Linked DNA regions of Homo sapiens: regions 1, 2 and 3 are each linked to region 4. Evidence: promoter capture Hi-C in 16 types of primary human blood cells and fetal thymus (Javierre and others, 2016). All regions are on one chromosome and are shown on one strand. The core of a region is centred on a gene start or on the middle of the fragment in contact, and the rest is flanking DNA. Distances in the headings are between cores, read along the strand shown.

Evidence for each region. The method cuts DNA at HindIII sites, captures the fragments that hold promoters and counts their contacts. A CHiCAGO score of 5 or more calls a contact.
Region 1: a fragment that was not itself captured here is called in contact with the fragment with the promoter of TAF4B in region 4 in 1 of 17 cell types (total CD4 T cells); the score reaches 5.5 in total CD4 T cells.
Region 2: a contact is called between a fragment that was not itself captured here and the fragment with the promoter of TAF4B in region 4, in 1 of 17 cell types (non-activated CD4 T cells). The highest score is 5.6, in non-activated CD4 T cells.
Region 3: a contact is called between a fragment that was not itself captured here and the fragment with the promoter of TAF4B in region 4, in 1 of 17 cell types (non-activated CD4 T cells). The highest score is 6.5, in non-activated CD4 T cells.

The regions. Positions count from the first base shown.
Region 1 is chr18:26,023,738-26,026,937 of GRCh38, forward strand. All of the region lies in intron 10 of SS18 (SS18 subunit of BAF chromatin remodeling complex), which reads right to left. Among named protein-coding and RNA genes, the nearest start is that of SS18, 65 kb to the right of the region's middle. The HindIII fragment of the contact is 3,991 bases long and covers 1-3,200 here.
Region 2 is chr18:26,072,270-26,075,403 of GRCh38, forward strand. The region is part of intron 3 of SS18 (SS18 subunit of BAF chromatin remodeling complex); the gene reads right to left. Among named protein-coding and RNA genes, the nearest start is that of SS18, 17 kb to the right of the region's middle. The HindIII fragment of the contact is 3,197 bases long and covers 182-3,134 here.
Region 3 is chr18:26,041,773-26,044,939 of GRCh38, forward strand. The region is part of intron 5 of SS18 (SS18 subunit of BAF chromatin remodeling complex); the gene reads right to left. Among named protein-coding and RNA genes, the nearest start is that of SS18, 47 kb to the right of the region's middle. The HindIII fragment of the contact is 6,803 bases long and covers 1-3,167 here.
Region 4 is chr18:26,224,607-26,228,128 of GRCh38, forward strand. It overlaps TAF4B (TATA-box binding protein associated factor 4b), which reads left to right and starts at 1,839. Exons shown (of 15, transcript NM_005640.3): 1 at 1,839-2,670. The coding sequence starts at 2,328. RefSeq lists enhancers at 1,469-1,538, 1,569-1,668 and a silencer at 2,319-2,478. The HindIII fragment of the contact is 8,704 bases long and covers 1-3,522 here.

The sequences.
Region 1 (3,200 bases), core at 82-2,581, 200 kb before region 4:
AACATCCTTCAGGCAAACAAAAATGATACCACATAGTAATATGAATCCATACATAAATAATGAAGAGTACCAAAAACGGTAACTACATGGGTCAATTTAAAAATTTTTTTTTCCTTATTATTTAAGTATCTTTAACTGATTTTTTTAGACAAAAATAAATTCAATACACTGTGGGGTTTATAACGTATACAGAAGTAAAATTTGTAACAATAACACAAAGAGAAGAAAAGCAGACTACCTTAAGGTTCTTACACTATGTATAGGCATACTATCACTTGAAGACACTGATACACGCTACACAGACGAACCTTGAAAATATTATTTTAAGTAAAAAAAACAAAACACCAGTCACAAAACTCCACATATTGTATGATTCCATTTATCTTAAATGTACTGAATAGGCAAATCTATAGAGATAGAAAGTAAACTACTGTTGCTGGAAAATCTCCAAATATTTGAAAACGAAATTACAGAATGAGTATTTAAGTATTTAAGGCTGAGTAGTTAAAGGGGAATGAGGAGTGACTGCTAATAGGTATACAGTTTATCAGGCTGGTGAAAATGTTTTAAAATTAGAGGGTGGTGATGGCTGCACTTTTTTGGGGGGACAGGATATTAGCTCTGTCACTCAGCCTGGAGTATAGTGACACAATCACAACTTACTGCAGCCTCGACCTCCTGGGTTCATGCAATCTTCTGCCTCAGCCTCCTGAAGAGCTGGGACTACAGGCACATGCCATCATGCCTGGCTAGTTTTTTGTAGAGGTGGGGGTCTCGCTTTGTTGCCCAGGTTGGTCTTCAACTCCTGGGCTCAAGCAATCCTCCTGCCTTAGCTTCCCAAAGTGCTGTAATTATAGGCGTGAGCCACCACCCCCAGTCTACCTTTTTGAATATGCTTAAAAACCACTGAATGGTATACTTTAGAATGGTGACTTGTATGATATGTGATTTATATCTCAATAAAGCTGTTTTTGTTAAAAAGAGGAGAAAAATCAAAGGAAGGCAGAAAAAGAGGAAAAGGAGAACAAAAACCAGATGTGACAAATAGAAAAAATAAAGATGATATACTTAATCATATCCATAATCACACTAAACATGTCAAAAACCCCAATTTAAAGGCAGCAATTGGCAGGCTGGATTTAAAAAAAGCAAGATCCGACTGACTACATATGCTGTCTACTTGAAATATAATTTAAATATAAAAACAAATATGTTAAAGGATGAAAAATTATTATTCTAATACTAATCAAAAGAAAAGTGGTATTGCAGTATTGATACTAGACAAACTAGATTTCAGAGCAAAAAATATTGGCAGGGATAAAGACAGTTATTTGATAATGGTAAAGGAGTAAATTCATCAGAAAGATTTGAAAATCTCCAAATATTTGAAAATGAAATTGCACACTTCTGATGTGTTGTGGGTCAAAAAAGAAATAAAAAGTGAAACCAGGATGTATTTTGAACTGATTAAAAATAACAGCATCAGATGCAGTTTAAGAATACTTAGAAAGAAACATCTATATTAGAAAGAAAGACAGTTCTTAAATCAATGGGACTACAACTTCAATCTTAAGAAACTGGAAAAATAAGAACAAATAAAACCCAAGTAAGCAGAAAAAAAGAAATAATAAAGTTCTGGGCAGAAATCAAAGAAACAGAAAAGCAAATGGGCAAAAGGCAATAAATAAAATCGAGCTGCTTTTTGAGAAAAATGAATAGGTAGATTAAAACTAGCCAGATAAATGAGGACAAAGAGAGAAGACACAAATTATTAATATCAGAAATGAGAGAGGTAATATCACTACAGATTATGGAGATATTGAGCGATGATAAAGAAATTATTCAACAACACAGATAAAATGGACAACTCCAATGAAAAACACACAAAACATTTACTCAAGAAAAAAATAGATAACCTGAATACCCCCTATATTTCATAAATTAAATTTATAATTTAAAAATTTCTCACAAAAAAAACTACAAACCCAGATGGCTTCACTGGTAACTTTGCACCAAACATTTTAGAAAGAATAATGCCAATTTTCTGAAGGGAGGAAATTCTTCCCAACTCACTCTATGAAACCAGTGCTACCTCAGTAACAAAACCAGACAAACATGTTACAAGAAAAAAAAAAAACAGATTCCAAAATTTGTCATGAAAACACAGATGTTCCTTGACTTGCCATGGGGTTATGTCCCAATTAACCCACTGTAAGCTGAAAATATCCTAAGTTTTGCATACCTCATGTAATTTATTAAACACTGCACTGAAAATATAAAACAGAATGATTGTACAGTTACTGGAAGTAGAATTTCTACTAAATACACATCACTTTTCACAGCATTGTGAAGTCAAAAAACCTAAGTTGAACCACTGTTATGTCAGGACACAACTGACTGGGACTACAGGCATATGCCACCATGACTGGCTAGATTTTTATAGAGGTGGGGGGTCTTGCTTTGTTGCCCAGACTGGTCTTGAACTCCTGGACTCAAGCGATGCAGATGCAGAAATTCTTAACAAAATTTTAGCTAATCAACCCAATATATAAAAAGGATATATATCATGACCAAATAGATTTTATCCCAGGTATGAAGTTGGTTCACATTTGAAACTCAAACAATGTAATTCAAAAATTAGCAAACTAAAGAAGGAAAACCATAATTCCCTCAATAGATAAGGAAAAATCATGTGACAAAATTCAACATTCATTCCCAATAAAAATTCTCAGCAAACTAGAAATATAACACCTGATAAAGGACATCTACAAAAAACCCTACATGAACATCTTATATAAGGATGAAAAATGACAACTTTCTCTCTAAGATCAGGAACAAGACAAAAGATGTCTACTCTCACCATTTTTATTTAACATGGTATTGGAGTTTCTAGTTGAGGCAAGCAGGAGGGTGGGGAAGGAACATGGGGGAGCATTCAGATTGAAAAGGAAGGAGACTGTCTTTATTCACAGACAACATGATTTCTATGTTTGAATATTCAATGAAATCTACAAAAACACTACTAGATGTGATTTTAGTAAAGTTATAGTTTTGATAAAATATCAATACACAAAAATAAGCTGTATTTGTATATACTAGCAACTAATAACTGGAAACTAAAATTTTAAAAAATTTACAATAGCATCAAAACACATAAAATACTTAGAAAAATAAATGTAAGACCTATATAGTGAAAATTA
Region 2 (3,134 bases), core at 530-3,029, 150 kb before region 4:
AGGAATAATAAAAAACAAATTAATTATTGGCCGGGCACAGTGGCTCACACCTGTAATCCCAGCACTTTGATTGCTAGACTGAGTTAAAAAAAAAAAAAAAAATCTACATCCTACTCATAATATCGTTATCTCTAACACAAGAAAACAGAAAGGAGGATAATACCATGCAAACACCAAAGAAAGCTTATTTAGCTATGCTAATATCAGATAAAGTAGACTTTAAAAGCATTACTAAAGATAAGAAGGGATAATTCACAATGATGTTGCAGGCGGCGCGCAGCACTTTGGGAGGCCAAGGCAGACGGATCACGAGGTCAGGAGATCGAGACCATCCTGGCTGACAAGGTGAAACCCCTTCTCTGTTAAAAATACAAAAAATTAGCCAGGCGTAGTGGCGGGCGCCTGTAGTCCCAGCTACTAGGGAGGCTGAAGTAGAAGAATGGTGTGAACCCAAGAGGAGGAGCTTGCAGTGAGCCGAGATCACACCACTGCACTCCAGCCTGGGCAACAGAGCGAGACTCCGTCTCAAAAAAAAAAAAAAAAAAAAAAAAAACCTTAAAAGAGCTAAAAGGAAAATCAGTCAGTCCACAATTTGACTTGTACATTTTAAACATACATCTCTCAGTAATCGATAGAACAAACAAACAAAACATTGGAAAGACTAAAAAAACAACAATCATTAAGGCTACAGAGGATTCAAACAAGATTAACACACTTGACCTAACCTAATAGACATATATAGAACTCTGCTCTCAGTGGCTAAACAATACATATTTTTTTTAAATACACATGAAACATCTGTAAAAACTGACCATATGCTGGACCTTGAAACAAATCTCAAGGAATTCCAAAGAACTCAAATCGTAAAATGTTATTTAACCACAATGCAATAAAGCCAGAAATCAAGAAAATAAAATATCCATGTTTGGAAATTAAGAAATGTATTTTTATCAACCAATGCATTAAAAAATAATTATGAAAATTAGAAAATATTTGGAATTAAATAAATATGAATATACTACATATCAGAACTATGATTAGAGGAAAACTTATGTCCATTTTAAATGCATCCTTAGAAAGGTGAAAATTGATGAAAGAGGCATTCATCTAAAACTCAGAAGAACAGAAAAAAATATACCAAAAGAAAGTAAAAGGGAGAAAATCATAAAGATCAGAAATTAATCATAAACAAAAACATACATGAGGTGCCCAAGGGCAAAACTATTTCCATAAGATGATGTTTGCCTTTTATGCTAAGTGCACATTTATAATGATGGTACAAAAGCAATAGTGGATATAATTGCTGGAACCTCATTATGAATCAAGGCAATGACATCAAACTATTATTAGTCAATGTATTACTGGCTGCCACACACTTGCAGTTGAAGAAAGAAAAAGATAGTTTCAGTTAAAAATGTGCTTGATGAAGCAGTAAAAATTATTTTGTAAATTCTCCATGTCTTGTAAATAAATATTCAGTGACAAAATGGGAAAATAATAAACATTATCTGTCACAAAGTAAAATAATCAAGAAAAAGCAGTTTGTGATTGAGTTGCCAGCTGAACTAGGCACCGTTTTCACTGAATACCATTTTTACTTGAAAGAACAATTGTTAACTGTATTTATCTAGGCATGGGTATTTGGCAGACATTTTCTCAAAAACAAACATAGTGAGCAAGAAAATCAACTAATAACATTTGTTGCCAAGATCACATTTGAATTTCCAAGCAAGAACTTGGAATGTGCAAACTTATCTACGACCTTGAGCTTGACAGCATCCCCATACTTAGGCACTTTTCTGATGAGATTAGAGGTGATTTTAACCAATGTAGTCTTTGGTATCACACAGAAAAATGTTAATGTTTGGAAGAACTGTTTAACTCAGTAAACTTATACTTTCCAAATCACCAAAGCATGATGTTATAAAATTATACATGAGTAAAAATCTATTCAAAGTGTAATAAAGACCAATGGGCTTAAATGTACCAGAGTAAGAAAAATGTAATGATACAATTTAAGATTCCACACCACAACTAACCTTAAAAAAAAAAAAAAACTTACTGAGTTCTGCTGTAATATCAAACAAGGTTATCCCCAAAAATCTGAAAAGGCTATTAAAATATTCTTCCCCTTTCTAACTACATGTCTGTGTGAGACTGCATTTTCTGCTACAACCGAAACAAGATACTACAATAGACTGAATGCAGAAGTAGATGTGAAAATATAGTGTCTTCTATTAAGCCAGACATTTAACAGAAACTTGCAAAAACGTAACATGATGCCATTCATCTCACAAAGATAGTTATTTTTCCTTTAAAGAATGTTATTTATATTAACATGCAATAAGTTTATTATTTTTAACAAATTTTTTAGATTTGTTTTAATTTCACAACTGAGAAAAATTTATAATTTATATTAACAATATAACCTACATCAAGTTCTTTTAAGTCCTCAGTAATTTTTAAGAATGTAACAGGGTTCTGAGACCAAAAGGTTTGAAAAATGCTGCAACAGAGCACAATCAAAACCAAAAGTTGATTCTTTGAAAAGACTTAAAAAACCCATAATAAACATCTGGCAAGAATGATCAAAAAATATTTCAAAGCAGAAGTCACAAATAATGACATTAAAAAGAAAATTATCACTACAGACAGTGTTGACATTAGGAAAATAAGATTATTTCAAGAGCTTTTACTTTATTTTCATGCTAATTAATGTTCAAATTTATTAAAATGCTAAAAACCACAACTTACCAAAATAGGCAATTTATAAAATATAGAAATTGTCCTATAACAATTAAAGAAGTAAGTAAATAAAAACTTCCTTGCAAAGAAAACTTCAGATTCAGATGGCTTTTCTAAAGAATTGTACCAATCATTTAACAAAGAAATAGAAATATTATGTAAATTCTTCTGGATAAGAAAAAGTAGAAAATTCTCCAGCTCCTTTTATAAAGCTAGCATAGCCTCAAAATAAAAACCAGACGAAGGCATTATAAGAAAGAAAAATTACAGGTCAATCACACTCACAAACAAAGATGCAAAAATCCTAACCAAAATTTTAACAAACTGAATATCGCAATTTCTTTAAAAACATCATGACCAAGTGGGTCATCAACAAGTAGGTTAATTAC
Region 3 (3,167 bases), core at 370-2,869, 180 kb before region 4:
AACAAAACACTAAACCTTGCTCTAAAGGAAAGCAAAGTAATTGTAGCTTAAGCCCTAGATAGAAAAGACCATGCCACTTGTGCTTTATCTTTTGGGACTGTGAGCAGTTCCAATCCCAAAGAGCTCAATTACTACCCTTCTTTTACTGTCACTTCTCTCCCTCAGAGGATCCCAACATCATTCATGATCAAGCCTAAACCACAGAGAGAATGCAGTCAGCTAACACTACTAAAGCACAATACATTTCATAATTTTCCTCGAAGCCTTATCCATTAAAGAAAAAAAAAATTATGACTATGACTTCAATTCTGATTGTTTAGGAAGTATATTATTTTCCTTCTTAGGATAATGAAATTATGCTACACTGGCAATGTATATTATCTCTTGAGATACTAATGAAACTAAGAGAAGCAAACTCAAAAGGTTACCCCAAAATATGTTCTAAAAATTTGTACTGCAGAGTGAAATAGCATTATAAAATGCATCTTCTACAACCATTTTCTGCAAACAATGGTATCATACATTACTACAGACTTTAAGGTTATTCTTCATCTTTTACATAAACAATTTTGATGTTAAGACGCACTACAAAGCGTGATAATACATATGCAAAGACCCTACTGATGTCTTAATTACCTAGAATATATTTTTGCAAGTGTTTTGCAAGGGCATATAACAAACACTTATCATTAGCACATTATTTCTTCCCATTTTGAGTTTTATATTCTAATAGATATTCTATGAAAATAACATCCTTTATTTTAAACACATGTAAAAACCTCCCAAATTACCATATTTTATATTATTGGCATTCTTTTCTCCAATGAGATGGTTAATACTTAATTTTATCTTAAGTCAGTGGTCAAAAAAAAAAAAAAAGAATTTTCTTTTGAAGAGTAAGTCAAGGATCAAATTTATTGAGTACTTATTAGGTACAACACCCCAGGCTAGGAGCCATGGTAATATAGAGATGTGATGAGCACTGTCACTGTCTATAGTGACACACAATTAGGTAGACTGAAAAAAATAATTTTTAAATACTTAACTATAAGGAAAACATTGTTTTAATCTGTCAATTCTGAATAATGTAATTTTACAAATATTCTATATATATAGAACATTCATACATATACACATGTATTTCACATCCTCAGATACAAACCAATACACTAAAATTTTATAAAAATTGTATCATTAATCTACAAATTATTTTAAATAATATTGTTTAAAATGACAGCTAACATTTAATGAACACTTATTATTAGCCAGGCACTAAGCTAATAGCTTTACCTGTATTATTTCTCTTCCCCAAAGCCCTATGAAACGGGTAGTATTATTATCGACTTCTTCACAGACAACAACATTTTAAGGCTCACAAACATCAAGGACCTTACCCAAAGCTGTACTGCTACGAAAGGCTCTAAAGTAGCATAGCTACTAAATGGTCCAAAGCCCGTGCTCTTAATCACTATGTGTACTTCCTCTCCAAATTCAAATTGTACTTTTCCCATGCCACTATCTCCCATGAAAAGAGTTCTGTATAATATATCTCTATCACTGTAATATAAAAACCTTAAAATATAAGAAATTTCTTCACCCCACCTATCTTAAGACCATGAAACTCCATAGATAATACCCTCCTCAGGCCTATTTTCACATTCATATTTCATCATTTACTGCTTACATTTTACTATTTGTTCCTTAACCATTTAATCTCTAACCCAATTATAGCTCTTATTTGGAGTTATTTCTAATAATTTATTTGCAAGAATCCCTGTATTCCAAAAAACTCAATTAGCTAACTTACTATCTGCTTAAATAGCTGCTTAAAAAGAATAGGATTCTTTACTTACCTAAATTATACACCTGTCCACATCAAGAATTTTTAGTAGTTAATAAGATGTTTAGATACAATATCAAGGATAAAAGAACAAGAGCAAGTAAGAAAATGTAGGATGACTAGCCCAGTTCAGTAAGGTCACTGCAGCCAAGCACAAATTTAGCTGAGTTTCCAGCAACCAATGAAAAAATGGAAACATGATTCTAGCAAGTAAAGAGAACAACAGCTCATTAAAAGATACAAAATCTTTCATAACATTAGAACTTTAGAAAAAATCTCATAAAAGTTTTAAAAGGTATTAAAAATAATATCAATAACAATTTTGTTATTGTCATTTGTTTCTTTAGTGACACAGACCATCTTTACACACAGTTATTCATACTAACCATTTCTTCAAGCTGGTTATTCTCAACTGTGGGCAGTTTTGTCCCTCAGGGGACACTTACAGCAAGAGGATACCTATCTAGCTAATCAGTCAACAAATAGGATAAAGCAGTGAACAGAATAAGACACAGTTCTTCACTTCATAGAACTCAGAGTCTAAAGAAAAATAATTAAACACATATTTTTTAAAATTATGTAATTATAAGTAGTACTGCTTAAAGGATTCTAAGTATAGGCTACTATACTTAAGTGAATTTGCCTAATAATTTAAAATATAGTGAAGTAAGACGTGTTTTTTATTTTATGTTGTATGCTTTTCATATTTTTTTAGATTTTTTTTTTTTTTGAGACGGAGTCTTGCTCTGTCACCCAGGCTGGAGTGCATGGTACAATCTCGGCTGACTGCAACCTCCGCCTCCCAGGTTCAAGCGATTCTCCTGCCTCAGCCACCCGAGAAGCTGAGACTGCAGTTGCACACCACCACGTCCGGCTAATTTTTGTATTTTTAGTAGAGACAGGGTTTCATTATGTTGGCCAGGTTGGTCTCAAACTCCTGACCTCAGGTGATCCACCCACCTCGGCATCCCAAAGTGCTGGGATTACAAGCATGAGCCACCACACCTGGCCAAGATTTTTCAAATTTAACATCAGTTATTTTAATAATCAGAAATATTTACTGATTACTAAAATCAGAAAAAAATCAGAAAAATTTAGTAAATTTACTTAATTGGGATTTCCTGTAGCTCCTTTCATCCTGGATGGGGGTTTTGGGCCAAGCAGGGGGGTAAAGGATCGAGATTGGAGACTGAGATCAACCACATGGACAAGCGATTAATCAAATCTACATAATACAGTCCCAATAAAAACTCTGAACACTAAGGCTAAGGGAAACTCCCCTGGTCAGCAATATACCCTGTGTGTATTATCACACATCTGTGAGAGG
Region 4 (3,522 bases), core at 589-3,088:
CTCAATAAATTGAGTTTTTCTCTCCCCAACTCCACTTTGAGGCATTTGCTAGAAGGTAAGTGATCAGGGAATTCACCATAGAAAGGGAGGGTGATTGGTTTAGGTCATGAGATGGATTTAGACTGGTCAAGAAGTGAGAGACAGTAAAGGTAGTAAGTGTGTGGACTTTACTAGATCTTGTGAGTAGATCTTATCTAAACGTGCCGGCACACGTTTACAGAGAGGGGGAAAAGCAGGAGCTGTAACCATCAGGTTGCCTGCTATTTTAGTCCACTCGGGCTTCTATAATGAAATATCATAAACTGGGTAGCTTATAAAAAGAGAAATTCATGTCCCATAATTCCAGAGGTTGGGAAGTTCAAGATCAAGGCAGATGTGGTATCTGATGAGAGTCTACTTTCTAGACAGCAGTCTTTTTACCATAACCTCACTTGCTGGAAGGGGTGAGGGATCTTTCTGAGGTTTCTTTTTTTAAAAAAATTATTTATTTAATGTATTTAACTAACAAATAATAATTGTATGTATTTATGAGGTATCATGTTACATTTGTATGTGTCGTGAAATAATTAAATCAAGTTAACATATTCATCACTTTAACATGATTTGTCCTGAATGGAATCCCATTCATGAGGGCTCCACCCTTATGATCTAATCACCTTTCAAAGGCCCAACCTTCTAATATTATCAACTCCAGCTTTAGCATTTTAACACTCAGTTGGGGGTATAATCCTAGCACTTTGGGAGGCCCAGGCGGGAGCTCAGGAATTGGAGACCAGCCTGGACAATATAACGAGATCCCGTTTTTGCTAGGCATAGTGCCGCTCCCCTGTGGTTCCAGCTACTCGGGAATCTGAGGTAGGAGGGTAGGATGATCACTTGAGCCCAGGAGGTGGAGGCTGCAATGAGCCAATGGTGCCACTGCACTCCAGCCTGGGTGACAGAGTTAGATCCTGTTTCCAAAACAAAACAAAACAAAACAAAACAAAACAAAACACCACAACATTCAGATCATAGCATCTGCCTACTTGTAAAATCGCCTTTCAGTGCAGTGTTGGTTCCTACAAACATACAATATAATGACTTTAGCTTGAAATTAAGGCATCTTCTCTGACTGCATTACAAACAGGCAAGTTTTTTCATATCGATTCACTCAACACCTTTTATTTATCCAGATAATATCTAGGATCACGCTTAATATCTAAGTGCTAGAATCTAATTATATAGATATCAAAAGGCATTAAGTTTTTCAGAAGACAGACATACAATTTTAATGTTTAGAGGTGATAGAGACACCTATAGCAGCACCAAAGAAGAAACGATTTTCCATTTAAGATTTTAGGCAGTTTAACTCTAAAATATGAAAATAGGCACATCTCACAGACTATAAAACTATACGCCATTTTAATTTTTACAATGTCAATTCTAACTGCGAATTTTAGCAACGCTTCAGTGTGAAGACAGCAGAGAAAAACACTGAAAATGCGTGATTGAATTCTTATTGAGTCACTCTTCTCGGAAATCAGTCCTCCCCATTTTCTCCTTAAAAAATAGAATCCTGGAGATAGTCTAGTGCTGGCTTTTCGAGGAACACACTACAGGGGACACAAGGAGAGGAACACGGATGCCGCAGTTTTCCAAGTGCAGCTTGCCCCTCCCACGTGATAGGTTTCTGGCATCGCCCCTCCTTGCTGGCGATTCTGGGGAAGATTTTAACGCTCCCTGGAGCCGTCCCCAGTGACGTCACGGGCGCGGCTCCGCTCCTTGGCCAATCACGCGGCCGGATCCCGGGGAAACCCGGGGCGGTGGCGGCGGCCTGGGCGCGTGCGCGAGGTCTCCGCGTGGCTATATAAACATGGCTGGCGTGGCCGCGCGGCGGGGCCGTGCCAATCGCGCGTAGGGGGCTGTGGGCACTCGGGGTTCGTAGTTTTGAAATTTCTGGCGGGGGAGCAGCTGCGCAGTTAGGCTCGAGGTGTGAGCGACGACCTTCCGGGAGCCGCAAGTCCAGGCTCCCCCGCAGCGGGACCCGAGCCTGAGGCGCAGGGCTGAGGCAGCGCACGTGTGAGCGCCGCTGAGGAAGCTGCGAGAGGTCGGGCGGGTGTCGCTCCGGGGGCAGCCCAGGCTCGCGCGGACGAGAGGAAGGTCCGGGACGCGCGTGTCCTGCCGTGCAGCGGGCGCCCGTCACTGACTTCGCTGCTGCGGCCCCCGCGCCTCTCCCCAGCGATGCTGTGGAACCCGAACCGCACCGGAGTCGGCTGCCGCGCGCCAAGCCTCCCCTCACCTCTGCTCCCGGAACCGCAGCGCCAAAGCTGCCGCTGAGCCCCTGGGGGATGCCCGCCGGCCTCACCGAACCCGCCGGCGCCGCTCCCCCGGCTGCTGTGAGCGCCTCGGGGACCGTGACCATGGCCCCGGCCGGGGCGCTGCCGGTGCGGGTGGAGAGCACTCCGGTGGCCCTGGGCGCCGTGACTAAGGCTCCTGTCAGCGTCTGCGTGGAGCCCACGGCGTCCCAGCCCCTGCGGTCCCCCGTGGGGACCCTGGTGACCAAAGTGGCTCCGGTCAGCGCCCCTCCTAAAGTCAGCAGCGGCCCTAGGCTGCCTGCTCCTCAGATAGTCGCCGTGAAAGCCCCCAACACCACGACAATCCAGTTTCCTGCTAATTTGCAGCTTCCTCCAGGTATGTTGATAACCCTTTCCAGCCTTGTCTGTCGGTCCAGCTGGCGGCGACGGGAAAATTCGCAGCTCCAGATTGCTCCTAAAAAAACTGAGCCACGGGAACATTTCATAATCTTGACTTTACAGTTAACATATTCTTTTTGTGTCATTACTACATAGTTTTTCTTTTCATATTTAAGGAAAGAATCTTTTCACCTAAGTGATACAGTAAAAAGCTACATCAGCGTATTCGGGGGGGCTTTCAGGCACTGGCTCTTAGGTGGAGGAGATAATATAGCCGAAGTTAATTTCCATGTGGAGGATGGACCGGTTTATACCGTGGATTTCCATACGCTTAGATTATGTAGAAGTGCGTTGTACTTATTTTATTAATTATGAATGAATGAATGAACGAATGAGGTATGGTTTCGCTCTGTCGCCCAGTCTGGAGTGCAGTGACACGATCATGGCTCACCGACGTCGAACTCCTGGGCCCAATCGATCCTCCCGCCTCGGCCTCCCAAAGTGCTGGGATTACAGGCGTGAGCCACCGCGTACGGCCTAACAGTGAAGTTCTTGTGTATTACAACTGAAAGAGATTTTTAAATTTAACCAAGTCAGAATCGGTTTACTGCTTTCTAGTACCAAGTACGAATAATGCTGTTCCTGCACAATCTTTAAATGTCTTATGATTCTAACTTTCAATTAGCAGAACCCCTGACTGGGAACACGTGCCACAGTTGACAAACAGATCAGTCATGCAATTGTTACAGTTGCAATTGAAGCCATGTGTCAACGCTACTGTTAATGAGTCTTTCACTACTTTCTATCCTAGGGCTTTTTACTCTATTGGGCTGTATTTCATGGTTTGTAT